Linked DNA regions of Homo sapiens: regions 2, 3, 4, 5 and 6 are each linked to region 1. The links are contacts of gene promoters, found by promoter capture Hi-C in blood cells and fetal thymus (Javierre and others, 2016). All regions are on one chromosome and are shown on one strand. The core of a region is centred on a gene start or on the middle of the fragment in contact, and the rest is flanking DNA. Distances in the headings are between cores, read along the strand shown. Region 1 holds the start of AEN (apoptosis enhancing nuclease). Region 2 overlaps AKAP13 (A-kinase anchoring protein 13). Region 3 holds the start of LINC02883 (long intergenic non-protein coding RNA 2883). Region 4 overlaps KLHL25 (kelch like family member 25). Region 5 has its middle 21 kb from the start of MIR548AP. Region 6 has its middle 41 kb from the start of MIR548AP.

Region 1 (4,723 bases), core at 1,522-4,021:
AAGGGCTGAAGCAGAGGTGCTAGGGAGGCAAAACAGGCTGGAGGACAATTCTCTGGAGGCTTCCTGGAAGAGGCTACATCTGTGTGCATGTACAACAGTAACCTTCCAGGTAGAAGGGAGAAGAATCAGTGGCCATGTTAGGGGCAAAGGCCTTAAAAAGGACTAACCCAGGGTGGAGGAAGAGGGCCCACCAGCAGCCTCAAGTCACTGGGGTGTAGAGCATAAGGCGGGTCATGCTGGAGGCACTGCTCCTCGCTCCTCTCTCCTTTGCACCATTTCATCTTCTGTTTCCTACTCTGGTGGCCCTTCCACAAGCCACCCCTACCGCAATCTGGTGTCCCCTGAATTGGTCTCTACTGGCCAAGTGAGTGGGGGAGCCCCAGAGGCACCTATGGAGGTCACTGAAATATCCCACAGTAGCCCTGACTCAGGACACTAAGTCTAGCTGGGGAGCAAAGAAATTCATCCCTCTGTGCTGAGCTCTTATAGCACAATTTGAGAATTATTACACCCTTCAAAGTCCATTGGTACACACAGTCTACCTCAGAGCTGTAAGAAGGCAGGTTAGAGCCTTGATTGTACCTTCCCCAACAGCCAGCCTAGAAGCTAGCATGTGGCAGGTCCTCTTCAGAAGGGTGTAGAAAGAGGTCTGGAGAAGATGAAAACCTGAGCAGTAGCAGCAGAGATTAAGAGAAATGGGAAGGGGATGGGAGGTGAGGTGAAATGCCAGGTTTGATGATGCCAGCATTTGCATAAAGAATCCCCACACTCTAGGGCAGGGCACCGCATCCTGACTTGACTCATCCAGACCTGACCCATCCTGACTCATCCACCCTGCTTGCTCATCCCATCCTTTCCAGGAGAAAAGGTCTCTCTTTTAAAAAGGTCTTAACTGTAACCAACTTCCTCATATTGACAGTCACATCTTAGAACTGACAAATTCAGAACCTTAATCTGCCTCAGCCCAGCAATGGGAGAAAAAAGCCTAAGAAGCCCAATGCCCACCCTGCTAATAACTAATTTGGGAAAGGGGGCTGGCGGATAGTCCCCTCCTTTCTCTGTGAGGGGCTGAGGCTAGGAGTAGGGTGGGTGGCTTTCCTGATCCTACTGGCAAGGTTTTAAAGAAGCCAGAAATTAAGTTATCTGAGAAAAGGTCTCTGTAGCCTCCTATTTCAAGAGAGGAAAGTAGTCCTTTTCCAAACACCCTGACCTTGCTTAAGAGAAGAGAGAAAGAGACCTCCCCCTCATATTGTTCTGTATTATTTTATACTCAGTACCTGTTTTAAGAAGAAACAAGGAAGCAAAACCAAAGGCAGGCAGCCCGGCGCCACGCACCAGACCCAAAACCAGACCCAAAACCAGGCCTGGGCCTGCCTGACCTTAGCCTGATAGTTAAAATTAAACCCATGACCTAGCAACCGATGTTATCCATAGATTTCAGACATTGTATAGAAGGACACTGTGAAATCTCTTGTTCTGTTCTGTTCTGTTTCACTCTGACTACCGGTGCATGCAGTCCCTGTCACATACCCCCTAGATTGCTCAATCAATCATGGCCCTTTCTTGTAAAATCTTTAGTGTTGTGAGTCCTTAAAAGGGACAGAAACTGTGCACTCAACAAGCTCGGATTTTGAGATGCTAGTCTGCCGATGCTTCCAGCTGATTAAAAGCCAATTCCTTCACTACCTCTGTGGGGTTTTGTCCGCGGCTCCTCCTGCTACATGCTGACACGTCAAAACCAACAGTCATCAAGGACACACCTCTTTGGGGACCCAAATGTAGCTCAGTGAAGCTGGAGAGAAGTTCCGCTCAGATAAAACAACCCTTTCAACAAGGACAAACACAAGCCTTTCTCTAGCCTGGACCCAGCGCTCTGGGGGTCAGACACCCGGCCTTCAGGCAGGGAGGGGGTCTGGCCTAAAGAAAGGGTCCCAGCTGCAGAGTCAATGGAGCAAAGGCCCCAAAGGAACCAAGAAGTCAGAATCCTCGGTGGCATGAGAGCCACCAACCTGCTGGCTGATCAAGAGGGCAGAGGGCAGTTCTAGACCCTCCTCTGGCACTAAGTAGCTAGATGATCTGGGGCAAGTCACGTCTCTTCACCATCAACCGAGGGCTGTGAATTAGATAAGGGCTTCCCAAATGTAGTTAATTACCATATGACATCTGATGAAAGGCTGATTTTCAGGCCCACTCCCACACCGTCCTAATTGCTATTTTGGGGAAAGGGGCCTGAGAATCTAGATTTTTAAAAAGAGCGCGGACGACCCCTACCCTCAAGCCACAATTCTGATAATCGCCCAAACCTGAAAAAACCTGGCTCGATAAGGTCCCCTGTGCTGCTAAAAAGTCCACGGAACAACGACAACAACTAAAGTCTGCTATCCTGGCACGACCTCCCCGCCGGCTGGCGTTCTCCCAGGCGTGACGCGTGGGAGGCCTGATCTCACCGGGAAGGACTCGGGCGTTGGTCACTTGCTGGCCGCGGCAGCTGGGCCGAGTCCCAACGACCAGCGCCGCCCCCTCTGGCCCTGGACCCCCGAGCAGAGCGAGGGCTGGAGACAGGCGGCGCCCGGCCTGCTTTTCTGCGGGCCGGTAGGGCAGGGTCAGCCCAGTTCAGGCGTCCCCGCCGCAGGCCGGGGCGGAAACAACGCGCGGGGACCTGCGACCCGGGACACGCGGCCTCAGCCCGCCCGACCCCGCCGCCCCGGTGCAGGGTCCTGGATCTCACCTGAAGCCCCGCGTGTCTCTTCCGGTCTGCACGTGGCGTCCGGAAAGCCGGCAGCTCCCACATGCCCGGGCAAGCCCGGCTCCGACTGCCCGCCTATTGGCTCGCTGGACGGCAGCGCCCGCCCAAGACCTCTTCTGATTGGTCGAGCCTGCCTGGCAGCGGGGAGGCGGGCGAGAGCAGAAGGGGAGGGACTCCTGAAGAGGGCGTAACTCGTGCTGCGAGCCGGCCATACTGGCGGGAAATTTTAAAGAGAAGGGAAGGGAGACTGACCTCCTGTCGTCCCTGCCCGGTCCCATCAGTGTTCCCCGGCTCCAATCCACTCCTCTACCTGGGTCGGGATGTGGGCTCCTGTAAGCCTGGTACCACCAAAGGCCGAATGACTTACTGAGTACACCCACATCTGCAGATTGGGAACATCGGCCCTTACCTCCTCGGGTGTTCTGGGATTCAAGGAAATAATATACACAGTAGGCACTAAAGAGAGACTTTGAAAGTCAGGTTTCCTCCGTCAGCGCTGCTTTTTCATTTATTCTTTTGCAACACTTGACTCCTAAGTATTAAGTTCCTACGTGGGCTTGGCAGTGGGATGCACACAATAAACACATAAGCATCCTGAGTTGTTTATCTAACAGCAGGGAAACAGCAAGGTTAACAGAAAATTCAGTGCAACATGAGGCCGGGGCGCGGTGGCTCACGACTGTAATCCCAGCACTTTGGGAGGCCGAGGCAGGTGATCACCTGAAGTCAGGAGTTTGAGACCAGCCTGACCAACATGAAACCCCATCTCTCCAAAAATACAAAAATTAGCCGGGCGTTGACGGGAGCCTGTAATCCCAGCTACTCGGGAGGCTGAGGCAGGAGAATCGCTTGAGCCCAGAAGGCGGAGGTTGCAGTGAGCCGAGATCGCGCCATTGCACTCCATCCAGCCTGGGCACCAAGAGCAAAACTCCGTCTCAAAAAAAAAGAAAGAAAGAAAGAAAGAAAATTCAGTGTAACATGAGTAATAACAAGAACAATAATAAACAGTTCACACGTATTATGTGAGCACGAATGATGTGCCAGGCAAAATACTCAGTTAATTTGTACAATGACCTTACTATTATTTCAGTTTTACAGTTAAGGAAATTGACACTTAAATTAAGGAGAAACACCTAGAATCCAAAGATCCTTACCTAAGCAGTCTGACTTCTCTTAGTTCACATTTTGCAAGCAGAAGTGATTTGGAAACGTACCTGTGATGAGAAATAAGCTAGGAGCTCTTTCTGATGGGAGTACAAATTTGAGGGAAGCAGGACAAGGGATGAGGTCACAAGAGAGATCAATCCTTTTACCCAGGCCCCTGAAGGCTTTGGGGAGGCAGAGGGATTTAAGCCATAGATAGTTTACCAGTGAATCTGCATTTGAAAAAACTTGTTCTGGCTGCAGCATAGAGAGGAATGGATGAGGACTGGAGAAAGGAGTGGGGGAGTGTTTGTGGAAATTTGGAAGATCATGATGTCCAGAGTGGTGTGGAGGATAAAGAGCTCCCCACCTAAGTAGCATTTGAAATGACAGATTCAAATGCTACTTAGGAGGCAGCGTTGATCAGAGAGCAGAGGGGAAGGGGTTATAGGACAGCGGTCTTCAGGCATGGGGACTGTGGGAGGTAAATCTGGGGCAAGGAGAGTTTTTTTTGTTTTGTTTGTTTTTGTTTTTGAGATGGAGTCTCACTCTGTCACCCAGGCTGGAATGCAGTGGCACAATCTCGGCTCACTGCAACATGTGCCTCCCGGGTTCAAGTAATTTTCCTGCCTCAGCCTCAGGAACAGCTGGGATTACAGGCACGTGCCACCATGCCCAGCTAATTTTTGTATTTTTAGTAGAGATGGGGTTTCACCATGTTGGTCAGGCTGGTCTCGAACTCCCGACCTCGTGATCCACCCACCTTGGCCTCTCAAAGTGCTGGGATTACAGGCGTGAGCCACCACACCCAACCAAGGAGAGTTTTAAGAGAGT
Region 2 (4,723 bases), core at 584-3,083, 2.9 Mb after region 1:
ACAGAAACTGATACTCATCTTGTGCTTCCTGTGTGCCCAGCCACTGCCCAGGTGCTTCTACTTACTGAGCAGGCCAAAACCGGGCTAGGTACAAAGCACAGGGGACACCAGCAAATGAGACATGAGACTGGGTGAACAGTGGGGGCACTGGGCTGAGAGTCAGGAGCTCTAAGTGCCAGATTAAGTTGGCCATGTCACCTTAAGAATACTGCAGGAATGTCAGAAATGTTCTAGAGACAGACTGAAAGCAGAGGACTCATATGACATCAAGCCTCAATCTAAGAGAGGCTGTTGTCAAAGCTTACACAGTCATGAAGAGGAACGGAAAGGAATTCAAACACTGAAAACTTGAAGAACTACTGATGAGTGGTGGGTCCTTAATGAAATATCTAAAGCAGTCAGGGACATTTCAGGTGGACACCATCCTTAGGAGGCCAGGACCATGGGGATATAACCATGCTCTCCATAAAAGGTCCTTTAGAAGCACTGTTTGGCAGAGTACTTGGCTGGCTTATCAGTATCAATGAAATAATTTCCTTTCAAACCAACTGGACTACAAAGACCTACCATTCACAAGGTAAGAGGTTTTACCTATTGTCAATACCATTGTTATGTCCTAAAAAAATTCCAGGAAAATGGGTGTCCCAAGTCAGTGATCATGACAACTACTAAATGCCTTAACATTTTGAATCAATGTCTTCTACATACATCATTTCGTCTGACTCAATAACTCTGAAGTGGGCAGGGTGAGCATTATGCTTCCCATTTTACAACGTAGAGGATAAAGATAATAAATAACAGCTAAAAATCTGAACAGTTACTACGTGCTAAGCACTGTAGTAAGCAATTTACATGTATTTTCTCACAACAACCCAATGATAATACTAGGTATTATCTCCATTTTACATCTGAAGAGATTGAAGCTTAGAGATGTTTAATAATGCATTTGAGGCCACACGCCAATAACTGCTCAAGCTGAAATTAAGATTCAGATCTGGCTGACTGTAAAGCTCAGCTCTCATACACTGCACTATGCTGCCAGGGACTGGAGAGGTTGGTTGACTTGCAAAAGGTCACACAACAGATGATCAGCACAGTCAAAATGGGAACCCAGGTCTTCTGACTTTCTGTTCAGAACCCAACCACTGTAATGAAATGGTAAATAATTGCTAGATCTATGATTCATGTGAAGTCTTTTGTTAATCAAATACATATAATGAACATCTAAGAGCCAAATTACTACACTTTTGAACTATAAAAAATAATGAGAGAGGAAGGGAGAAAAACTCCTTCACTTTACAAAACAGGAAGCTGTTCTGAGTGAAAATTGGTAATCACTAAAGTACATAAAACTTTAGTAATAATCAACAACTAAATTTGGGTTTTTTCAAATAATTTCTTTCTTTTAACTAAATTTTGCTAAAGGTTTTTCCATGCATAAAATGTTAAATGGAAAAGCATCTGATTTTTTTGCTCAGGAAAGTTAAATTATACTTCAATCGTTTAAAAAATCTTTTTATGGCAACCAGCTTATCCTCTCAAGCCTTGCAATGCTCTTCAAACCTGAATAAATAAGAAATAGCTTCCCTTTGCAACAATCCAAATTAGTTCTTCCCAGGATGGAAACAAAACAAAACAACCAACTCCACTGGCTCTTTCTGTGTTTACTAGAATTTAGTGCTTTAAAGAAGTCAGGCTCTTACCTCCCCATGCTTTGGTCCTATGAATCTCACTGTTATGTGGGGTACTTCATGAAACCGAGCCCATTTTATCGACATGATTCGACCCCCATGCCAGGAAGCGTGCTCTCACAGAAGCGGGGGCGCATGCCGTCAGGGCAGAGCTCAGCAGCTTTGAGCTGCCATTAGTGAAATCGTAAGAGGAAGCCAGAGACTGGCTGAGAAAGGGAAGGAGGGAGGGCTGAGGCTGCTTGTTTCCTTAAGACAGTCTTAACTGTTTGAATGCTGCTGCTAAAGCCAACAACCCTTGTTACAAAGGATACAGGAAATGAAACGAGACCTCACTCCCCCCAAAAACAGTGTGTGTGGACAGTGCTTAAGCAGCAATATAAGAACTCTAGCAAGGTTTGAGGCCAAGTTTTTACACGGGAAGTTAAGGAACACATCTTACCTATTTTAAAATAGACTCCTCATTTTGTAAAATGCAGTGAGTTTCATAAGAAAACTTTTCAGTGAAGTTGCCTGGTGTAAAGTGGTGACTAGTTATTTTCTGAAGTTTGACTTTTCCATGTTTAACAACTGGCAAAATGCTTTAGCTGTGTGCTGGAGAAACAGGCTAACGGTATTTAACAGGGATAGATGCAGGTAACAACTGCACTAGGACACTATCAAAGGTGATTCTTCACTTTTCCAAAAATACCCCTTTATACATGTAATTACAATAAAAAGAACACTCTGGACAACTGTGAAAACATGATATGATCAAACAACTGTCATGTTACAGATCTTTAATCAAAGAAGGAATGAGAATTACATTTAAAATTAAGTCTTTGTAAACACTACTCTAGGAGGCACTTCTGAAAGGCCTATGGGTACAGCTCTTTTTTATACAGACCACAGGACCTAGGAGCTGTAACTGAATGTCCTGTTACAAAGTCATGTAGTATACTTGCAGCTGTGCAGGAATTTAACCTGTGCACTCAAAAATACCTACTTCAAATCAAATAGATTTGTCTAAAACATTTCTAACCACCTCTTGTTTGTCTACAAAGAGGAAAGCTTAGTATTAGGTTGGTGCAAAAGTAACTGTGGTTTAGAAAAAAGAAAACCAGTGTGATAGGATGGTTTGAAGAGGGTCATTCCACACTCCCTTTGTGAACTCGAACACCATGCATATGAGTGTTTAAATACTCTGTAACACGCAAAATTACTTAGCAGGAAACAGCACTATCTCTCAAAGATACTAAGACAAAAGCAGAAACTGCCAGTCTTCCTGCTATACTTCCTGTTTAGCATCCCCTCTCATCTTCCACAAACACATTCAATATATTTATCTAATCTAATCACTTATGCCAGTCGGTGATAATTCTCAAAAGGACATAGGATCAAGGACTCAATTTCTTAAGTTTATATACAAAACCCAGTGATCCAGACAAAATATGTTACCCTCCTAGGAATGTGAACAGTTTACTGCCTACTGGCTTTTGGCTTCTTTGGACATGTTTAAGAACTGTTTATCATCACAATTATACAACTGAATGGAATATATCTAGGTTAATCACTATAACCTATTTTCATAAAGATATATATATCATGCAAAAGGAAAGCAGACATTTTCAAATAATCCTTAGACACTTCTCTAAGAGTTACAGGTGGCATTTTAATATTATATTCGGTAGATGCTTAAATTTTTCCTTTAAAAGATGTAGGTCTAGTTTTATTGTATGGTAGATTAATAAAACAATTGGATCAGACGGTCTCTCACAGCATCTATTTAAAAAATAATTTTTAAAAACTGAAAATTTATCATTTTCACAGAAAAATCAGTGTCAATATCCATAGTAGCACTTTCAATTTGTTAACATTATGGAGAAGTAACATTATTCAATAGTTAAGAACAAGATTAGAGTTAGCATCACTATGTTAAGAAAATTTAATATTCATTAATTTTTATGTTACCATTTAGAAAATACAGTACTTCTGCATGGTAAAATGCTATGCAGATACATAGCAGAGTGAGGGTATTTAACACAAAATATACTGCTTTACTATTTCCCCTATTTCTTTCCTCTCTCTCTCTTTTTTTTTTTTTTTTTTAAGAGACAGGGTCTTGCTCCATTGCCCAGGCTGGAGTGCACACAGCGTACTGCAGCCTTGAACTCCTCGGCTCAAGTGATCCTCTTGCCTCAGCCTCCTGAGTAGCTAGGACTACAGGTGTGTGCCACTACGCCCAGCTAATTTTACAATTTTTTTGTAGAGATGAGGTCTCACTATACTGCCCAGGCTGACCTTGAACTCCTGGTCTCAAGTGATCTTCTCATCTCAGCCTCAAAGTACTGAGATTACAGGTGTGTACCACTGTGCCCCACCCCCACCTTTTAAAAAATCATCTTTTGCTACATTGACAAAAGCCAAGCTGTTCCAATTTTATTTAAAAGTGAGCTAGTAACACCTCACTATAAAAGGTGACTTACAGTTGCCACTAGGGCACTCTAAACACTTGGTAATGGGAAATGGACTACAATTCAGGGTTACAAATTTGTAATTTTTTGAGTTTCCACTGCTAAAGACAGCACGACCCCAAGAGATCAAATCTTGAAGCCAAGTCTGAAAGAGGAACCAATCTCAATTGCAAAAAAGTGTTGTCATTTTGACAAAGGAGATGATCAGAGACAAGAGGTCAACTGATACTAAAAGTTTCTACCAGTGATCACAGATTTCGGTCTAACACAAAATATGTTTTCTCCTGTCCTTTCTGCTCATCTCCTCCTAGCAAACTCCAGTCCTTTCAGATTAAAAAAGTTAAAAGAAAAAAATTACGCTGTATAGTAACATTTTGTTTAAACACAAAATGATGAGTACTACTTCCTGGAAGTCAGATAACAGGAGGTTGTGTGAGGTTGTGTGAGGTTGTGTGACATGAAGCATACATCTCTGTGCCTCAGTTTGTAAAATAAGGAGGCTAGGCTGAGGGCTGAGACTTTTTTAAAGGTCAGGGTCCAGTTTCTAAATTCCATCTTACGTTGTTTTTTTTCCTATCATGT
Region 3 (4,723 bases), core at 1,464-3,963, 2.9 Mb after region 1:
CACAAAGGACGTGCCATGGTGCTTTCCCCAAAAGTTGTGTTGCTTTTATCAGTTTTCTAACTTAATAAAAAGAGTTGAGAAAATTCTTTGCCTGCCTTGTGTGCTGGGATCAGTCTTGGAGACATTGCTGGTGGCTGACTTTGGTCTTGTCCCACCAGCCAAGGCTCAAGGCCTGCCTGCTGGCATCTGCCCCTCTCATGAGCTGGGAAGGGGGAACCCACCCAGATGAGAGGTCTCCCCATTCCTGTGCCTCCTGAAGTTGCTTTAGAAGCCATGAAGTTGATTCCGTGGAGAGTCCTGATCCTGTCTGCCCCTCCTGAGAGTGATTCTCTCCTGGAAACTCTGGTAAATAGAAGTTGGGAATGTAATTCCATCCATTCGAAAAGGCAGAACCTCCAGTTGATGCTCCTTTGTCTGAAAATAACCCGAGCGCCATTCAGAGGGGCGAAATGGCTCCAGGAGGCAGCTTCACGGCCGCAGCGCCAGCTCACGGCACCGTTGCGCCCACTGGTTGCACCGTGGGCCCTGGGCTACCTGCCCTCCTTGTGCGTTTTCATAGTCACCATGAACCTCATGAGCTCAAGCGTATGCTCACGGGTAAACATCGTGTTCTGTGTTTTGTGATCTCACCTTCAGGCGCCCCTCAGACAGCGGGCAGCCCGAGAAGGTCATGCCGTGGCGCAGCCTGCGTGCAGGGTGGCTCTGCTGTGAACAGGAACCCGGAGGTGCCCCAGCACGGTGGCTCTCAGCAGTGGCTTCCGTGGTGCTCAGTGGTGTGCTGGCCCACAAAATCCAAATAGCGCCTTCACAGTGTAAGAAGTGCTTCTGATGCTGGCGTAGGGGCATGACGCCAGATTCCTTAGAAAATGGAATGATCTTGAGCGGGTGTGTCTCAGAGGTGAGTATGGTGCGTGTAGAAGAGCCAAGAGCACAGAGGGCCTCGTCCCTCCCCCTGCCCAGAGGTGCAGCCCTGGGAGGGGCATCCTGGGACTCTGCCTCGCACTGTCTGCTCCTGTAGCAGTGGTGGGGACCACAGGTGAACGCTACCACTTCCACACAGGCCTGAGCGCTTCACTCTGGGCATCCAAAGCCAGGAGTTGGCTCCAGCTAGAGTCCAGACAGCAGCAGAGGTGAAGTTCCCTGTCACACAGTCACAGGGTGAGTGTGAGCCAGCTGTGGCCCACAGGGCTCCAACTCTCTCCCCCTCTCTCCCTCTCTCTCCAACTCCCACCCCCTCTCTCCCTGCCCTGCCGTCTTCCATGCAAGGCAGCGGTTTCCTGGTCCACCCTGGCCTTCGCAGCCCCGGCCATCCCATCTGCATTCCAGCCAGTGGAAAGGGGAGGAGAGAAAGTGATGGGCAAGCCTGTTTTAAGGGCATGTCCCAGAAGTTGCACCATAACTTCTCCATTTTCCCAACAGCTAGAACTCAGTCACATCCACGCCTGACTGCGAGCGGGACTGGAAAGTGCCCCGAGGAAACTCCAGGACTCCAACGCCAAGTAAAGGGAGCGTAGATATTAGACAGGTAGCAGCCTCTTCCTCTACATGCTGGGTCAGGGGTTGGAAGGAACCTGGGCACACCGCCCTGCCTCCCGCTTCTCTGGGAGCATGCAGAGCCGTCATCTGCCAAGATCCTGGCTCTTGTCAAACCCTTCTTGTCAAGCAGTTGTCAAGCCCACTGGCCAGTGCTTTGCATAACTACCTCCTTTAACCCTCACAGTGACCCCCGGAGGTAGACATTCTTGTCCTCTTCTTGCTGATGAAGAAATGGGTCCACAGGTCACAGTAACTTGCCCAATGTCTCATGCTGGAAAGAGGAGGAGGAGGAGGAGGAAAAAACACGGTTGCAACTGACAGAATGTGGATTTGGAGCTAGGCCCACCTGAGTTTGGGTTCAAGCTCTCACGTGTGGCTCTCATGTATGTGCAAGCTTGGTTAAACCACTTGATTCTCTGATACAGACTTAATGATAGTAGGGTTAAAAGTTGAGGTCAAATTCTATAAAGCACTAAACACCAGGACCAATGCCCAGATAGCCCTTTACAGGGGGAGAATGGCCGCCACATTACAGCAGTGGAACTGGGATTTGAAACCAAGCCATATGCTACATTGTGGGGGCTGGGGGCTGGGAGCAGTGTTGCTTCCAGTCATTGCCCAGCAGGCCTAGCTCCATGTTCCTTGGCCTCCCAGGGGTCAGACTGAGTCTGGGATGGGGCTTGGGGAAGGGAGAAGGCGCCTTCCCCATCAGTGATGGGGCAAGGTCTCCCTGGAAACCTCGGTCCCAAGATGGCCAGTGGAGCTTTCCTGGGTTGTGCCTGATGCAGGAAAGAAAACGGGCCATCTTGGAGGCTTTGGCATCCTGAGAGCCTGCCTGGGGGGACTGTCAAGTTGCCAAGGGCAAGGAGAGGGTAGCCAACTGCCTCCTCCACCTGGCTGCTCAGCCAGGTCTCCCTGCCTTCAAAGGACATTTCTTTGGTCAGGAATTGACAAGAATGAGCCCAGAGTCATCCACCCCAAGGGTGTGTGGCAACCATCCCTTGCTCAACACCGAAGGCTGTAGAATCATAGTGGGGAAAGAAGCAACTTCTTCAGAAGCAGTTGTCTAATGAGCACAGCTTGGAAAGAGCCTTGGTTCTTCTGGATCATCACTGGGGGGATATTTCGCAGAGCAAGAAACTTGCATGCCCCGTCCATCATGTCCCAGCCCCGGCCCCAGGCCCAGCCCCGATGGATCTGCCCGGCCTCTCTCCTTCAGGAGGTGGGAATGGTCTCTTCCAACTTGAAGAGGCCATGAAGGTGATCGGCCCCCCAGCTGCTCTTCTTCCCTCAGGCCCAACCCTACCTGACCTGCAGCTTGGCCCGCCCATGGCACCTGCAGAGGTTCAGGCCCTGCCCAGGGAGCCAGGGTGATTTGGGTGAATTTCCCAGAACGGGCACAGTATTGTCCTGCATCTTCCCTTGCCTTGTTGGGCTTTGGGATGTGGCTCTGCCTCATTAAAGGTCAAGGAAAAGCCTAGAATAGGCCGGAGGCTTCTTAACTTGGGATTTGGGATCAAATTCAGGGGGTCCATGCACTTGGGTGGGAGAAGAATGACACCTTTGTTTTCACTAACCTCTGACTGAGGTTAGTGATCAAGTGATCCGCCCACCTCGGCCTCCCAAAGTGCTGGGATTACAGGTGAGAGCCACCTTGCCTAGCCCCAGTCACTGTTGAGGTCACCATTTTAAAGCTGAGGAAACATGCTCAGCATGGCAGCAGAAGCTCTGGCAGTTTCTGTGTGTCTGGCCCCAGCTGCCCAGGCCCCCTGAACCTGAGGGGCCTTGCTCTGGCCCTGGGGTTGGCCTGGGTTTGGCACCTGGCGCTCGGGCCCCTGAGGGCTTGCAGTAGGGGAGCAGTGGCTTTTTTGAGTTGAATTTAGTAGGGCTGGACTCCTTTCCTGTCCTTTCTGCAGGTAAAGGAGATGAGCAGCGTTGCTCTGGTACGCAGAGAAGCTTCCAGACACTCCTGGGTTGCACGATAGATTAAGTAATTCTACTGATGGGCACCAGCTCCATGCCAGGACCCAGGGCTCCAAAGCCATTTCCAGGTAGACTCATCACAGCTTCTCCACTCAGCTTGCAGGGATGGTGGGGAACCAGGGAGGATGGGAGCAAGAGACACATCCTGCCAAGCCCACCCTGTGGTGGCTCTACCAGCGTCGGGACCGCAGAGGGAACAGGATGGCACAGTCTCATCCTGACACGTGCATGCAGGATAAATGCAGGCTCTGAGAGCGAGTGCCACGGATGACTCCTCCATGGCCGCACTTTCTTCACATTGGCTCCTGTGAGCTTCCTCAACGCTTTCGAAGCTGGCCCCGCTTCTGTCCACTCTGCAGAGTGAACGTTGAGGTACTCTGTGTCTCTCATCTGTACAACCCTAACTAGGGCTTCATCCAAGACTGTCGAGGAGCAGGTCCTGTCTCTCCCTCTCTCCATCTCCCCACTTCCCATGGAAAATAGTGAGATTTTTAAAATGGGAGTTGAGGCCATACCGAAAAGCCAGCACTGTTAAATGCAGCTGTGACATTTGCCTGAGAGAGGTGGCCGGGGTGTGGGGGGGCGGGGTTTCAGCTCCCAGTCTGCCCTCCAAGCTGGTGTTGCCAGCTGTGGCTGCCTTTCCTGTAGGCCTGCGAGGTCCCTGCCATGCCTGTCTCCTCCTCCCAGCAGTAGTGTGAGCTCTGCTCCGGGATCAAGGCCAGATCTTTGCAGCCCATGTGCTTGGCTCCCTCAGCTGAGCCTCAGGACGTGGGTCCTCAGTTTGTGCTGTGCAGCGTGAGGGGCCACACTGCAGTCAAGCCAGCTGGGTGCAAACAGCAGCTTTTCTTCTACTTGGTGGCCCTCCTTGGGAAGGTCCCTCTGCTCCTGTAACTTCATTTCCTCATTGATAACAAAGAAAAAAACAGATCATATTGCCTGTTGTAAGGATTGAACTAAATCGGGTAAAGAGGCTACTAGATTTCTGTCAATGATGTCCATTTCCTTTGCCCCATATACGTTTCCAACTTAAGAGAGAGAGTGTGTGTGTGTGAAAATTAACTAGAAAGAAAGTATTCCAGCTTTCTGGGGAGTTGAAGGCAATTTCAGTAAAAATGTATGTTTCTGGCCGGGCACGGTGGCTCATACCTGTAATCCCAGCAGTTTGGGAGGCTAAAGCAAGTGGATCACTGGAGGTCAGGAGTTC
Region 4 (4,723 bases), core at 1,341-3,840, 2.8 Mb after region 1:
ACTGGGTAGGGCCCAGCGTGGTGCACCGCCTGACCCGTTCCTCTGGAGTGGAGAAGGCGTCCCTCTCAACTTGTAATCACAGCTCCCACTCCCTGGTGACCAGAGGCTGCAGTCACCCTGGGACTCTGCGGTCAATCCTGGAAGTTAAAGTGGCTGCCCTTCAAGTGTGCTTAATGTTTGGGTGCGTTACGTGAAAAGGCTGGAGCATGTGGAGAAGGCACTGAAACATCGGCCGGCCCTCTGGGTCTGTCGGGACCTCCCTTCGCTTTCCAGGCTTTGGCTGCAGGCTGACGGGTAGGGCCATGTGTAGAGTAATCCTCTGATTCATTGTCCACAAGGGACACTGTGTCTGTGTCTGGGTGGGGAAGGAGACACAATTTGAGAGCATTGGTTGGTGGCACTGTTGATCTTGACCTCAGGAAAGCAGGTGAAGCCAGGTGGTCTCACTGTATGCACTGTCAGAGGCTGCGGAAGGGCTGTGGTTCTGTGCTATTGGGGTGAGCATTGGCTGGGAGCTATTTGATGCAGGGACCTCATGGGATTGCCTGAAGGGGAAGCCCGTTTATTACCAAGCATTGTCTGAAGCAGACATTCTCAGCCCTTCCCTGATCCTTGCTCCATTCTAGAACTGCCCCATGGGCAGCCCATTCCTGTGCAGGAGGCATGGGGGCCAAAGTGAGGCAAGGAAGCTGGGGTGAGGCTGAGGGCTGGGAGGTTTAAGTACTGCCCAGCAAACTGTCCACCTGAGACCAGAAGGTGCCATTTCACAATTCTTGTGGCTTCACTGCAAGTGTCAGATCTGTTATTTATTTATTTATTTATTTATTTTTTTTGAGATGGAGTCTTGCTGTGTCCCCCAGGCTGGAGTGCGATGGTGGCATCTCGGCTCACTGCAACCTCCGCCTCCTGAGTTCAGGCCATTCTCCTGCCTCAGCCTCCCGAGTAGCTGGGACTATAGGCACCCGCCACCACACCCAGCTAATTTTTTGTATTTTTAGTAGAGGCAGGGTTTCACTGTGTTAGCCAGGATGGTCTCGATCTCCTGACCTCATGATCCGCCCACCTCAGCCTCCCAAAGTGCTGGTATTACAGGCGTGAGCCACCGTGCCCGGCCTCAGATCTTTTCACAATAAAAAGATGAAACAAAACCAAACTAAATAAATATGCACATTGAAAAATATAATTCAGATCAGTTACAGTTTAAATAACAAGATCTATACAATATTGAATAAATATGCATAAAGGTTTTTTTTGCTATTGATTGATTGATTGAGACGGAGCCTCTCTGTCGCCCAGGCTGGAGTGCAGTGGCACGATCTTGGCTCACTGCAACCTTCACCTCCCAGGTTTGAGCAGTTCTCCTGCCTCAGCCTCCCAAGTAGCTGGGACTACAGGTGCGTGCCACCATGCCCAGCTAATTTTTATACTTTTAGTAGAGATGGGGTTTCACCATATTGGCCAGGCTGGTCTCCAACTCCTGACCTCAGGTGATCTGCCCGCTTCAGCCTCCCAAAATGCTGGGATTACAGGCGTGAACCACTGTGCCCTGCCTGCATTTCTTTCTTTCTTTCTTTTTTTTTTTTTTGAGACAGAGTCTCGCTCTGTCGCCCAGGCTGGAGTGCAGTGGCGTGATCTCGGCCCACTGCAACCTCCATTTGCTGGGTTCAAGCAGTTCTCATGCTATAACCTCCCGAGTAGCTGGGACTACAGGCACACGCCAACATGCCCGGGTAATTTTTTGTATTTTTAGTAGAGACGGGGTTTCACCATGTTGGCCAGGCTGGTCTCGAACTCCACACCTTGTGATCTGCCCACCTCAGCCTCCCAAAGTGCTGGGATTGCAGGTGTGAGCCACCACGCCTGGCCGCTTTTTTTTTTTTTTTTTTTTTTTTTAAACGAGCCATTGAAAGGCAGCAGCCTGGCTGGGCGCCCTCACACATGGTTGCTGCCCCCACAGCCTCTGCAACCCAGGCAGGGGACCTCAGGCCGGGTGGCTGGTGCATCCTACCTGGCTTGTGCTGCCAGCCCTCAGGAGGGGACAGGAGAGCAAGGAGTTCATCTTTCCATCTCCTTTCCTGCCACTGCTTGCTGAACACCTCCGCCTTCCTGAGGAATTAGCAGCTCAAAGTCTGCAGTCAGGCCCAAGTTCCAAGAATGTGGCGTTGAGTCTGTTTCCTTATCAATAAAACGGGAATGATGGAACTCCTGGCAAAGGGACATGCTGAGGTCCTTGCGGCTGTGTGTTTTCATGAAGTCATTGTTGGTGGAATCCTGACTCCGATGCACCCAGTGCATACTTGGTGCCAGGAAGGGCCGTGTCTTGGGTTTCTGTCAGCGTCAGCTCCTGCAGGGTGGCCGTGAATCACTGTGCAGGTTGTTCACTGCATAAGGGCACCCAACCTCATGCAGCCTGAATTTCAGCTGCATTTTCCTCTCTAAGTCTTGTGCTTGGGTCCAGAGCCACATCTGTCAAAAAGCCCAAAAGCCAGGTTTGGCTTTTCCGAGTTTCCAAAGGTGCTTTCCTGCTAACCCAGAGACTGGTACACTGCAGGTACACTGGCAAACCTAAAATAATCGCCCTGGCCGGGCGCAGTGGCTCATGCCTGTAATCCCAGCACTTTGGGAGGCTAAGACGGGCAGATCACCTGAGGTCAGGAGTTCAAGACCAGCCTGGCCAACATGGTGAAACCTCGTCTCTAGTAAAAATACAAAAATTAGCCGGGTGTGGTGGCGGGCGCCTGTAATCCCAGCTACTCGGGAGGCTGAGGCAGGAGAATTGCTTGAACCTGGGAGTCGGAGGTTGCAGTGAGCTGAGATCGCGCCATTGCACTCCAGCCTGGGAGACAGAGCAAGACTCCGTCTCAAAAAAAAAAAAAAGAAAAGAAAAAAAGAATCGCACTGCGGGAGTGGGGAGGGGTTTTCATTTTGTACCAGGGGGCCATACGGATTGGCTTGGCCCTGAGCTCCAGAGATAATTTGAGCTGTTCATGCCTGGGTACTACGCAGGCTGAGCGCTGTGCCTCTCTCGTTTCCCCATCCTGTAGTGAAGAATGATGGAGCTGACACCCTCGTTTTGAGCCTTGCTAACTCTTGGTTAGTGGAGGCGGGTGGGAAGGGGTTAGTGCTGTAGCCATACTAAGTCAGGCCTTCCTGAGACTGGCACGGAAAAAGCAGCTTTGATGGCATCCGGGTTCCTATTTCTCTCAGGATAGGCCTTTCGCTTTCGGTCACTGGAATCTTCTGTGAGTGTGGCAAGTTTTCTTCAGAAAGTCTCACCCCTTGGCTAGTTTGTTTCTTTGTGCATTTAACTTTCCAAAGATGTGCTGGAGAAGGATGCTGGGCACATTGTTACCCGGTACATTTTAGCTGAGTCTGTAGGTGAGGATTGCCTGGGGAGCAGCGATGTCCAAGGTGGATCCACCCCTCGTAGCAGGATGAAGAGTTGCTGATCTGTGGCATTGCAACATTGTGCAGTTACGCTATGTGCCTTAAATCCATCAAAGCTCAGGACGACGCTTAGGTCATGAGAACAATTCTGTGATATGTGCAGAGCGAGAGTGTCTGATTGATTATGGCTCCAAAGACGTGAGCCATGGGCACAGGGAGGCTTCCCGGGGCCTGCTTTTGGGCCCTCTCACATGCTCCCCACCCCCCGCCGCTGGGAGCCTCTGGCTTGGGCTGCTTTTGCATCCCCAGGCCCTGCTATGAGGCTGGGTATGTCACTGGTACTGAACACATATATCTTGAGCAACTGAAAATAATCACACACAACCATTCTTCTGGTTGCTAGATGGAAGGGGTGGAGGGACACATAGCTAAGACCCCTTACCGAGACAAGCAGCCCCTGGTCACCAATTCAGGGCACTGATGACCCTGTGAGTCCTTAAGTGACAGGCCTCAGCAAAAGGGGGCGGACCAGAGGACCACAGGGCTCCACTTGGCCCTCTGCGCAGGCTTCCATCTTGGGTAGGTGGCAACACGGCTGTCACCCCTTCCCACTCCCAGCCCTGGTCCAGTCCGGTCAGCAGTCCTAGGGAAAGGGCCTGCTTCGTTCCTCAAAGTTCCAGTGAACATCTTAGTATAGAGTCCCACTGGTCTGTCCTGGGTGTAGGCCCCATCACAGCAGTTCGGAGGATGACACTAGCTCATCAGCCAGGCCTGGCACGTGTCCACTCCCCACCTGATCCCCAGGGCCCAGTGATGTGCAGCACCTGGGGCCCAGTGCCCACCCCGGGATGCCACCCGCTGAGCTGCCTGGAGGCAGGTGGTTCCCAGAGAACAGTCAGGGTGTGAGTGCGAGGAGGAGGCGGCATTGTGCTGGTGTGAGTAAAATGACACGCGTTTACCACATGTCAGGTGTCGCAGCCGCCTGGGCAGCATTCACCACTGCCTCGGCCTTCCTCTCCTCTGGGTCTTGACAGTGGCTGGGCTGGCAGTCATGGTGGAGTTGATATGAATGAGTTTCGTGTGCTGTGTCTCAGGGCTTCATCATGGGCATAGGAAGAGATGGACAGGTCCATGCCATCAAGTCAAGTGACCTCTGTGCCGGGATCTGTCCTGGGTGTTGAGGTCACATCAGTGAGCCCCACACATGGTCCCTGCCTTTCTGGGCCTCCTGTGCAGTTTGGGAGACAGTACACAAATAACATGCCCAGAAGCTGTGTGGGCCTCAGCATCCTTGCCTGTAAAGTGGGGCTCCAGTGCCTCACTTGGGATCAGGCTG
Region 5 (4,723 bases), core at 727-3,226, 2.8 Mb after region 1:
TCAAGACTAGCCTGGCCAACATGATGAAACCCCATCTCTACTAAAAATACAAAAATTAGCCAAGTATGGTGGCAGGTGCCCCAAATCCCAGCTGCTCGGGAGGATGAGGCAAGAGAATCGCTTGAACCCAGAGACAGAGGTTGCAGTGAGCTGAGATTGTGCCATTGTACTCCAGCCTGGGTGACAGAGCAAGACTCTGTCTCAAAAAAAAAAAAAAAAGAACCTACTTCATGCTCAGCCTTGTGCTAAGCAGGGAGGATGAAAAATAAAGTTCTGGCTTGGCCATGATGGCAGAATAGTTTTGGTAGGCAGGATAACGACCCTCAAACATATCCACATCCTAACATCCCAAACCTGTGCATGTGTTATCTTATATGGCAAAAGATTTTTGTAGATGTGATTAAATTAAGGATCCTGGGATAAGGAAGGTCATTCTGGATCATCCTAGTGGGCCCAGTGAATCAAAATAGTTGTCCAGGGTGGCAGGAGTTCATGGGCTGAGTAAGGTGTGCTGTATTTGTAACAAAGGGATTAACGAAACTGAGCACATCAACAATGATCGAATGTGCAAATACCAGAAATTAAAGACACTACAAATTCCTGTCCTATCTTGGAACATTTTGTGGCTTGAATTGCCAGATGGGAGTTAATGACTTATAATTAATGGAAGGTCAAATCAACTGACTTGTATAATCAACAAACTTACAAACTCCCATTTTACCATGTTGAGGCAGTTTGGTGTGTTAGAAAGAGCCAGGGGTCTGGATCACCTGGTAATTTACTATGTGCATTTTGGCAAATCACTTAAATTCACTAGATCTCTGTTTGCTCATGTGTAAAATGAGAATAATGCCACCTCATCAACCTGAGTAAATTACCTGGCCCTGAGCCCAACAATAGGGACCTATTATTGAAGATCTGTGTTAATATGGCAATAATGATAGGGTCTATGCAATACTAAAGTGTCTGACTGAAAAAAGAATAATTAAGATAACCCTTATAATACATTAGCCACCACAATATCAATGGTGTCCCTATGTGGAAACATTCATAGATCTGGTGATAAGATATGTACGACAGCTATTGCAAATGACTGTGAGTAAGACTTAGAAAGGGCACGGAAGGGACAGGTACCCCTCAGACACCAGTGCCCCGGGATGATAAAGAATCAAACACAAGGCATCCATGGGGTCACTTTACAGGTAATGCATCTTTAAGAGAAGAGATCTAGGTCTGAACAGCTGAGCTGACATTCTGGGTATCCTGCACCCACCATGGCAAAATTTCAAAGCTTCTTGCAAAAAAAAAAAAAAAATTATTAGACATCCAGACTCCCCTTTTGTTTCCCACCTTTTTGTACTCTTCATGTAGTAGACAGCCTGATCCCAGGTGGGAAATTATCTTTGAACTCTCACTTTTCCATGCTATCACTTTCCCATATTATCACAATAACTCAGGAGTCTGTATTCAGTGGGGGTGTAAGTGGATTAGATGGAGAAAGAGAGACTTGGAGCAGAAAGAAGACAGAATGTGATGCTCAAGTGTTGGAATAAAATTCCTCTTTACAGTTACTCTAAGGAGCTGTTTCTATGCATTTCCAGTAAGCTTAATGATCAGTTTCCACAGCATCAATCATGTTGAGAAGCTTCATTATAAAACAGCCAAAGCATTATTCATAGTCACTCTGATGATAATATGATCATATTATGGGAATAATATTAAAGCACAGAAAAATAAGAAAAATGGGTAAGGATTGGGTTGGAAAGGTACTACTCTGGGAAATATAGAGCTAGTTATCATCTGGAGCACCCATCACAGGCTTTACATGTTTAGAAAGAATCGCAAGATTTCAAGTCTGCTTGTAGAGAAATACTCAGTGTCACATTTTACAACCCAGTGTGCTCCTTTAATAAAACACATTATTTAATATTGTATCTCAACGTGATTCATTCTACTATGAGTAGTTAATATTCTTCCCAGGTGCTGAAGAACCAGAAAGTCTGGAGCTGAAAATTCGAGGGTCAGGCCAGTTTAATCCCCTTTTGTTCTCAAATCAGTGATAAATAGATTACCAGAAATATTCTCAGGGACTGAGACAGACAGGCTGGACGACATAGAGAATTTATTTCAAATCCAGCTTCTGTGAATCCAGATGTCCATTCATCTCCTATGCAAAATGCTGCCGGAATCATCTGCTGACTTGTAAATGTCCATTTCCAGTCATAGAGCTCTCCCACATTAGCTTTGGGATCATGACCCAGGGAGCTGTTTAAATATCAGTCCAGCAACCTGCACTGTTAAGCTTTTTTTTTTTCCTAATCTTTTGAATTTTATTAAGACTTATTTTATCACCCAGCATATGGTCTAACTTGGTAAATATTCCAGGTGCATTTGAAAAGAATGTGTATTCTGTTCTTGGGTATAATCTCCTATAAATGGCAATTAGGTCCAGGTAACTGATAGTATTTACATATTCTATATTCTTACTGATGCCTTTGTCTAATTGTTCTATTAATTACTGAAAAAGGGATGTTAAAAATATTCAACCAGGATCGTTGACTTGCCTAGTTGTCCCTTTAATCTTCTCAGTTTGTGTTTCATACATTTGGAAGTTCTGTCATTGGTCACATATGCATATAGAAGGGGTGTATGTTCCTGCTGATTTGGTTCTTTTATTATTATAAAATAATCTGTATTGTATCTCATAATACTCCTTGCCTTGAGGTCTATTTTGTCTAATATTGTTATAATCACACCAGCTTTCTTATACTTACTATTTTCATGGTATGTACTTTTCCATTCTTTTACTTTTAAACTATCTGTGTCTTTACATTAGAAGGGTGTCCTTATAGGCACACTTTATAGAGCATAAAGACGGGAATTGCTTTTTTATTCAGCCTGATAATCTCTGTCTTTTAATTGTTATGTTTTGTCCTTTTACATTTAATGCAAATGTTGATATGTTGGTCTATCATTTTATTATTTGTTTTCTATTTGTCCTATCTCTTTTTTGTTCCTCTGTTCCTTCTTTTCTACTGTCCTTTGGGTTAATCAAACTTTTTTAGTATTCTATTTTAACTCCTCTATTGGCTTTTGAGTCACTTGCGACATTATCGTTTCATTAACCTCGCCTAGTCCTTTCTACCACTATTGTCATTATGGTACATCTACATACATTATAAACGCCACTGATTTGAGAAATTGTATTCAGCAATTAATATATAAATAATACATAAAATAATATATGAGTCGTTTGAGTTCCTTATATTCTGATTATTAATTTGTTGTCAGATGAACAATTTGAAAATATATTCTCCCATTTTTGTAGGTTGTCTCTTCACTTTCCTGATTGTTTTCTTTGCGTTTGTGCAGAAGCTTTTATGTTTGATGTGATCCCATTTGTCCATCTTTGCTTTGGTTTCCTGTGTTTGTGAGGTCTTACTCAAGAAATCTTTACCCAGACCAATGTCCTGGAGCATTTCCCCAATGTTTTTGCCTAATAGTTTCATAGTTTCAGGTCTTACATTTAAGTCTTTAATCCATTCTGATTTGATTTTTGTAAATAGTGAGAGATCAAGATCTAGTTCCAGTGTTCTGTATATGGATACCCAGTTTTCCCAGCACCATTTATTGAACAGACTGTCCTTTCCCCAATGAGTGTTCTTGGCACCTTTGGCAAAAATTCTACCTTCCAATACCAGATGAAGAGAGAGGAAAGTAGAAGGAGGAGAAAGAAAAAGAAAGGAAAGGAAGAAAAGAGAGGCAAACCAATGAGTTCAATTGGCCAATTCACACAGTGGCTTCTGTACCATCACTCTGAACACTGTCCCAGCGTAGCCCAAAGCCCCCTTGCCTCCTTCCAGCTAAGACCCTTGCTGGCCCAGATCTGTACAATCAAGAGTAGTGTTCTACACTGGAACTTCAAGTTATTCTTCCTAGTTCATAGGCACAAACTCTGCCTAAAGCACAGGACATGCCTGGATCCCCAACCACAGCCACATTCAGAGCCGGCTCCGTGTCTTCTCACAAATCCAAGGGTCACCATCTCACCTTCCCTCACAGTGAGTTTGTACTCCAAGGCCCTTGGCGTCCTTTCCTCTCATAGGGCCTTGCTCAGGACCAAGTGTTCTATACTCCTACAGGTTTCCTGATCTTTTAATTCCAGACAGGGGTTGGAATATCAGTCCTTTTCCTTCCACAAGGCCTCTAGGCTTCTAATGCAAGTCGATGCATTCTCCAACTCCCGCCACCTCCCCCAGCCACATCCCCTTGCACTTGGAGGGGAGAAGCAGCCTTGAAGAGCCAGATAAAGCATCCTGTTAGCCTCTGTTCCCAGGAAAGGATTATCTACCGTTCCTCCCCTTGCATATTGATAGGAGCTACCCAAGTGGCTCTTCAGGAAACAAAAGAGCCCATCTCATAGTGACTTTTAATATCTGGCCAGACATTGAAGATACTGGGACAGCTTTTAAAATCCAGCTTCACAGAGTACTCAAATATACAAATATCTGCTTGCACATTGAAAGCTGGCAGAATATGCCACATCAACATATGCTGCTCTGGCGTAAGGATTATTTTGAGCTATAGGCACTTTAAAAAATACATGAAAGAAGGGCATTCTGACCCTTCCCTTTCTCTTCCTGAAAGAAGGAGATAACACCTCCTTACAGAAGAGGTCCTCCCTGTGCCAGAAGGAACGTTTGTTCTTATTATCAAAGATGGG
Region 6 (4,723 bases), core at 702-3,201, 2.8 Mb after region 1:
TGGGACCAGCCTGGCCAACATGGTGAAACCCCGTCTCTACTAAAAATACAAAATTAGCCAGGCATGGTGGCACACACCTGTAAATTCCAGCTACTCCAGAGGCTGAAGCAGGAGAATCACTTAGAACCTGGGAGGCAGAGGTTGCAGTGAGCTGAGATCGCACCACTGTACTCCAGTCTGGGCAACAGAGGGAGATTCTGTCTCAAAAAAAAAAGAAGAAAGAAAAAATACTACAAAGTTTTAATAACCCAAACAGCATGGTACTGGCATAAAAACAGACACACAGACAAATAGAACAAAATAGAGAACCCAGAAATTAATCCAGGTATCTACAGCCAACTGATTTTTGACAAAGAAATCAAGAACACTCACTGGGGAAAGGACAGTCTCTTCAATAAATGGTGCTAGGAAAACTGGATATCCATATGCAGAAGAATGAAACTAGACCCCTATCTCTCACCATATGCAAAAATCAACTGAAGATGGATCAAAGACCTAAATGTAAGACCCCAAACTGTAAAACTACCAGAAGAAAACATAGGGGAAATGCTTCAGGACACTGATCTGGGAAAAGATTTTATGAAGAAGACCTCAAAAGCATAGGCAACAAGAACAAAAATAAATAAATGAGATTACATCAAACCTAAAAAGCTTCTGCACAGCAAAGGAAATGATCAGCAGAGTGAGAAGACAACCTACGGAACTGGAGAAAATATTTGCAAATTATTCATTTGACAGGGGATTAATATCCAGAATATATGAGGAACTCTAATATCTCAACAGTGAAAAAAATCCAATTAAAAAATGGGCAAAAAGGCCAGGCATCATGGCTCATGCCAGTAATTCCAGCACTTCAGGAGGCTGAGGCCAGAGGATCACATGAGCCCAGGAGTTTGAGACCAGCCTGGGCAATGTGGCAGGCTATCTCGACCAAAAATACAAAAATTAGCTGGGTATGGTCAGTGACCAGGGTTGTGGGGATAGGAGGCCCTGAGGTGGGAGGATCACCTGAACCTGGGAGGTCAAGGCTGTAGTGCTCCTTGATCATGCTGCTGCACTCTAGCCTGGGTGACAAAGACAGACTGTCTCAAACAAACAAACAAAGCAGTGGGGGTGGACTGGAGGAGAAGCAAATGATCTCAACAGATTTTTCTCAAAAGAAGAAATACAAATGGCCAACAAATAAATGAAAAAATGTTCAATATCACTAATCATCAGGGAAATGCAAATCAAAACCACAGTGAGGTATCATCTCACCCAGTTAGAGTGTAAAGTGGCTATCATCAGAAAGACAAAAAATAACGAATGCCGGTGAAGATATGGAGAAAAGGGAGCTCATCTACCATTGATGGGATTGTAAATTAGTACAGCCACTATGGAGGAAGTGTGGAGGCTTCTCAAGAAACTACAAATAGAACTACTGTAAGTTCTGCAATTCCACTATTGGGCAGTTTTCCAAAGGAAAGGAAATCAGTATATTGAAGAGACTTTGCACTCCCACGTTTATTGCAGCGCTATTCACTATAGCCCAGATATGAAACCAATCTAGGTGTCCAACAAAGATGAATGAAGAAAATGTGGTGTATATGCACAAAGGAATACTATCCAGTCATAAAAAAGAATGAAATCCTGTTTTCGCAGCAACATGGATGGAACTGGAGGACATTATGTTAAATAAAATAAGCCAGGAACAGGAAGTTAAACACCACATGTTCTCATTCATATGGAAGCTAAAAACAGTTGCTCTCATAGAAGTAAAAAGTAAAACAGAAGATGCTAAAGGCTGGGAAGTATAGAGGGCAGGGAGGAATAGGGAGAGATTTGTTACAGGATACAAAATCACACCTAGATGAGGAGAATAAGTTGCAGTGTTCTATAGCACTGTAGGATGACCATAATTAACAATAAGATACTAGATATTAATAGTTTCGGGTAACTAGAAGGAGGATGTTGTACGTTCCCAACACAAAGAAGTGATAAGTGTTTGAGATGGTGAGTGTGCTAACTACCCTGATCACTATATATTATGTGTATTGCAGCTTCACTATCAACCTCATAATTATGTACAATTATTATGCCAATTTAAAATTTTTTTATTTTAAATTTTTTTTAATTTTAATGTTGAAAAAGAAGTTAGACAGCAGCCAGACCATGCAGGGCTGTGAAGGCATGGCAAGGAGTTTGGAAGCTATTCTGGGCATGGTGGGAAGCCATAGGAAGGTTTTGAGCAAAGGCATGGCCTCATCTGACTAACACTTTCAGAGCATCTCTCTGGCTGCTGCAGGGAGCGTACAGACCAGCGAGTCAAGGGAGGAGGTGGGGTGGCCGTTCAGGATTGCTGCAGGCGCAGGACAAGAATGAGTTCTCTGCCCGAGGTCTGATACCTTAGCTAGGTGTTCAAATTTAGCATCGTCAGTAATGGGACCACATGACATCATGTGCCGCCTGAAGTGATGTAACAGGAAGGATGCCAGATTGCCCTGGTAGTATTCTTGCCAAGATACTTAACCTGGATTAATAATCCAGAATCAGTAAGACAAATCCAGAGTGCTGGGCATTCTACAAAACACATGAACCGGACTGTTGAGAAATGTCAATGTCATAAAAGATCAAAAGCGGAGGAGGAGAGCTCTACAAAAAAGGTGACATGACAACTACATGAGGGTGTGATACTCAAATGGACTCTGTAGCAGGGGATTGAAAATTACTATAGGCCAGGCGAGGTGGCTCACACCTGTAATCCCAGCACTTTGGGAGGCCGCGGCAGTCGGATCATTGGAGGTCAGGAGTTCAAGAACAGCCTAGCTGACATGGTGAAACCCCATCTGTACTACAAATACAAAAAAATTAGCCAGGTGTGGTGGCACACGCCTGTAATCCCTGCTACTTGGGAGGTAGAGGCTGCAGTGAGCTGAGATCACACCACTGCACTCCAGCCTCTGCCACAGAGTGAGACTCCATCTCAAAGAAGGAAGGAAAGAAAGACAGAGAGAAAGAAAGGAAGGAAGGAAGGAAGGAAGGAAGGAAGGAATGAAGGAAGGAAGGAAGGGAAAGAAAGAAAATTATTGTAAAGAACATTGCTGGGACCGTTGGGGCAATTTAAATGTGATTATAAATTAAGTAATGTATCAATGTTAAGGTTCTTGGATATGGTGATGTTGTGGTTATATAAAGAAATGTCTTTATTCTTAGAAGACGTGTTGAATTATTGAGAGGTAAAGTGTCAGGGTGTCTGCAACTATCAAAGCTTTCATCCAGAGGAAGAGAGAGAAAGATGAAATAAATGTGGCTAAATGTGATAATTTGATGAATCCCAGTGAAGACCAAGAAGATGTTCATCTTCCAGCTTTTCTATAGGTTTGAAACTTTTCAGAGTGAAAAGTTGGGAGGATGGAAAAAGAAGTAAATAAATAAATGAATCAATTGAGTCAACAATTGAGATTCCTTTTCCCTAAGACCTTTATAAGCAGTTTGCTCACATTGATTCTGATGTGGACAGTTCTGGATGTAAAGGGGGCAGGCCTAGAATGAATGATCTTTCCTGGCGTCTTCCAGATTGCAGATGTACGTTTGGTTTGGTTTGGTTTGGTTTTTAATTTGGGAATTACAAAAGCAGCAGGGACCCTGTGCGAAGCTTGAGCGGCTGCTGCCATCTTGTGGATCTCAGCACTTCTGCAAAGTTGGAAACATATTCCAGGTCACTGCAGGCTAAGGAGCCCCCCTCCACAGCCTGGGAAGGAATGCCCTGGAGGTTAAAGGTGTAAGTACTTTTGTTAACTTCCTTCCAGAGTGAGTGACGATGCAGCCTACATCCTTCAGTGGGTTCTCTGGATGCACAGGGTCCTCCGCCTTTAAAGTCAGCAGGCCTGACAAAACTTGCATCGATTTCACTCTGCAAAATTCAGGCTAGGGAGCCATTGAGTGGGAATTTACTGACATTTGCACGCAATATTGACTTGTTGGCATTGTTTTCTTATTCATGAAGTCTCATAAAAATGATACTGGGCACTTCTGATACCAGCTTTTCAAACCTCTAATTGGTTCACAGACAAAGCTTTGAAAGCAGGTGTGGGAGGGTCACGATCAGAGACAGTGAGAAAGAGGAGGGAGTGGACTACCTTAGAAGGAGAGCGGGAGGAGGAGCCAGAAAAAAAACTAGCTTCTAGATTTTCTTTGCAGGCAGGGTGGATGTGGTAAGAAGCTCTGAGGACTTTCAGGCTAGGTGGACTTGGGTTTGCATTTCAGCACTGAGGTGCCACTTTCTGCTTGGGGCAGCTTAGACATCTCCTGGGGATTGTTATCTGAATGGTGGTGATAACACATAGGGGATTATGTTAAGGACTGAGGATGTTTTAAGGCAGCAGTTTTAAACTTGAGCAAGCCCCAGAATAATCTAAAGGGTTAAAACATAGATTTCTACCCCGACTCCTCCCCCAGAGTCTCTGATTCAGCAGGTCCCAGGTGGTCCCAAGCATCTGCATTTCTTTTTTTTTTTGAGACAGAGTCTGGCTGTGTTGCCCAGGCTGGAGTGCAATGGCAAGATCTCGGCTCACTGCAACCTCTGCCTCCCGTGTTCAAGCAATTCTCCTGCCTCAGCCTCCCAAGTAGCTAGGACTACCGGCACATGCCACCATGCCCAGCTAATTTTTGTATTCTTAGCAGAGATGGGGTTTTGCCATGTTGGCCAGGCTGGTCTTGAACTCCTGACCCCAAGTGATCCTCC

What was found. Contacts are between HindIII fragments. The CHiCAGO score rates a contact against its expected background, and 5 or more counts as called.
Region 2: a fragment that was not itself captured here is called in contact with the fragment with the promoter of AEN in region 1 in 1 of 17 cell types (non-activated CD4 T cells); the score reaches 6.5 in non-activated CD4 T cells.
Region 3: a contact is called between a fragment that was not itself captured here and the fragment with the promoter of AEN in region 1, in 1 of 17 cell types (M1 macrophages). The highest score is 5.6, in M1 macrophages.
Region 4: a contact is called between a fragment that was not itself captured here and the fragment with the promoter of AEN in region 1, in 1 of 17 cell types (M2 macrophages). The highest score is 5.2, in M2 macrophages.
Region 5: a contact is called between a fragment that was not itself captured here and the fragment with the promoter of AEN in region 1, in 4 of 17 cell types (endothelial precursors, M0 macrophages, M1 macrophages and 1 more). The highest score is 15.7, in endothelial precursors.
Region 6: a fragment that was not itself captured here is called in contact with the fragment with the promoter of AEN in region 1 in 1 of 17 cell types (endothelial precursors); the score reaches 5.8 in endothelial precursors.

The regions. Positions count from the first base shown.
Region 1 is chr15:88,619,388-88,624,110 of GRCh38, reverse strand. It overlaps AEN (apoptosis enhancing nuclease), which reads right to left and starts at 2,771. Exons shown (of 4, transcript NM_022767.4): 1 at 2,729-2,771. RefSeq lists enhancers at 41-1,240, 2,727-2,886, 2,216-2,889, 2,890-3,563 and a silencer at 2,517-2,706. The HindIII fragment of the contact is 13,176 bases long and covers 1-4,723 here.
Region 2 is chr15:85,687,085-85,691,807 of GRCh38, reverse strand. All of the region lies in intron 16 of AKAP13 (A-kinase anchoring protein 13), which reads right to left. Among named protein-coding and RNA genes, the nearest start is that of LINC02883, 69 kb to the left of the region's middle. RefSeq lists enhancers at 19-108, 259-308, 3,902-4,211. The HindIII fragment of the contact is 1,815 bases long and covers 926-2,740 here.
Region 3 is chr15:85,754,686-85,759,408 of GRCh38, reverse strand. LINC02883 (long intergenic non-protein coding RNA 2883) reads left to right here and starts at 684. Exons shown (of 6, transcript NR_120366.1): 1 at 684-898; 2 at 1,061-1,158; 3 at 1,420-1,525; 4 at 3,453-3,587; 5 at 3,754-3,891; 6 at 4,168-4,468. KLHL25 (kelch like family member 25) reads left to right here. Exons shown (of 3, transcript NM_022480.4): 3 at 1-83. The HindIII fragment of the contact is 1,562 bases long and covers 1,933-3,494 here.
Region 4 is chr15:85,773,035-85,777,757 of GRCh38, reverse strand. The region is part of intron 1 of KLHL25 (kelch like family member 25); the gene reads left to right. Among named protein-coding and RNA genes, the nearest start is that of MIR1276, 4.8 kb to the right of the region's middle. RefSeq lists an enhancer at 1-210. The HindIII fragment of the contact is 6,438 bases long and covers 1-4,723 here.
Region 5 is chr15:85,844,692-85,849,414 of GRCh38, reverse strand. No RefSeq gene overlaps it. Among named protein-coding and RNA genes, the nearest start is that of MIR548AP, 21 kb to the right of the region's middle. The HindIII fragment of the contact is 657 bases long and covers 1,648-2,304 here.
Region 6 is chr15:85,864,216-85,868,938 of GRCh38, reverse strand. No RefSeq gene overlaps it. Among named protein-coding and RNA genes, the nearest start is that of MIR548AP, 41 kb to the right of the region's middle. The HindIII fragment of the contact is 2,596 bases long and covers 654-3,249 here.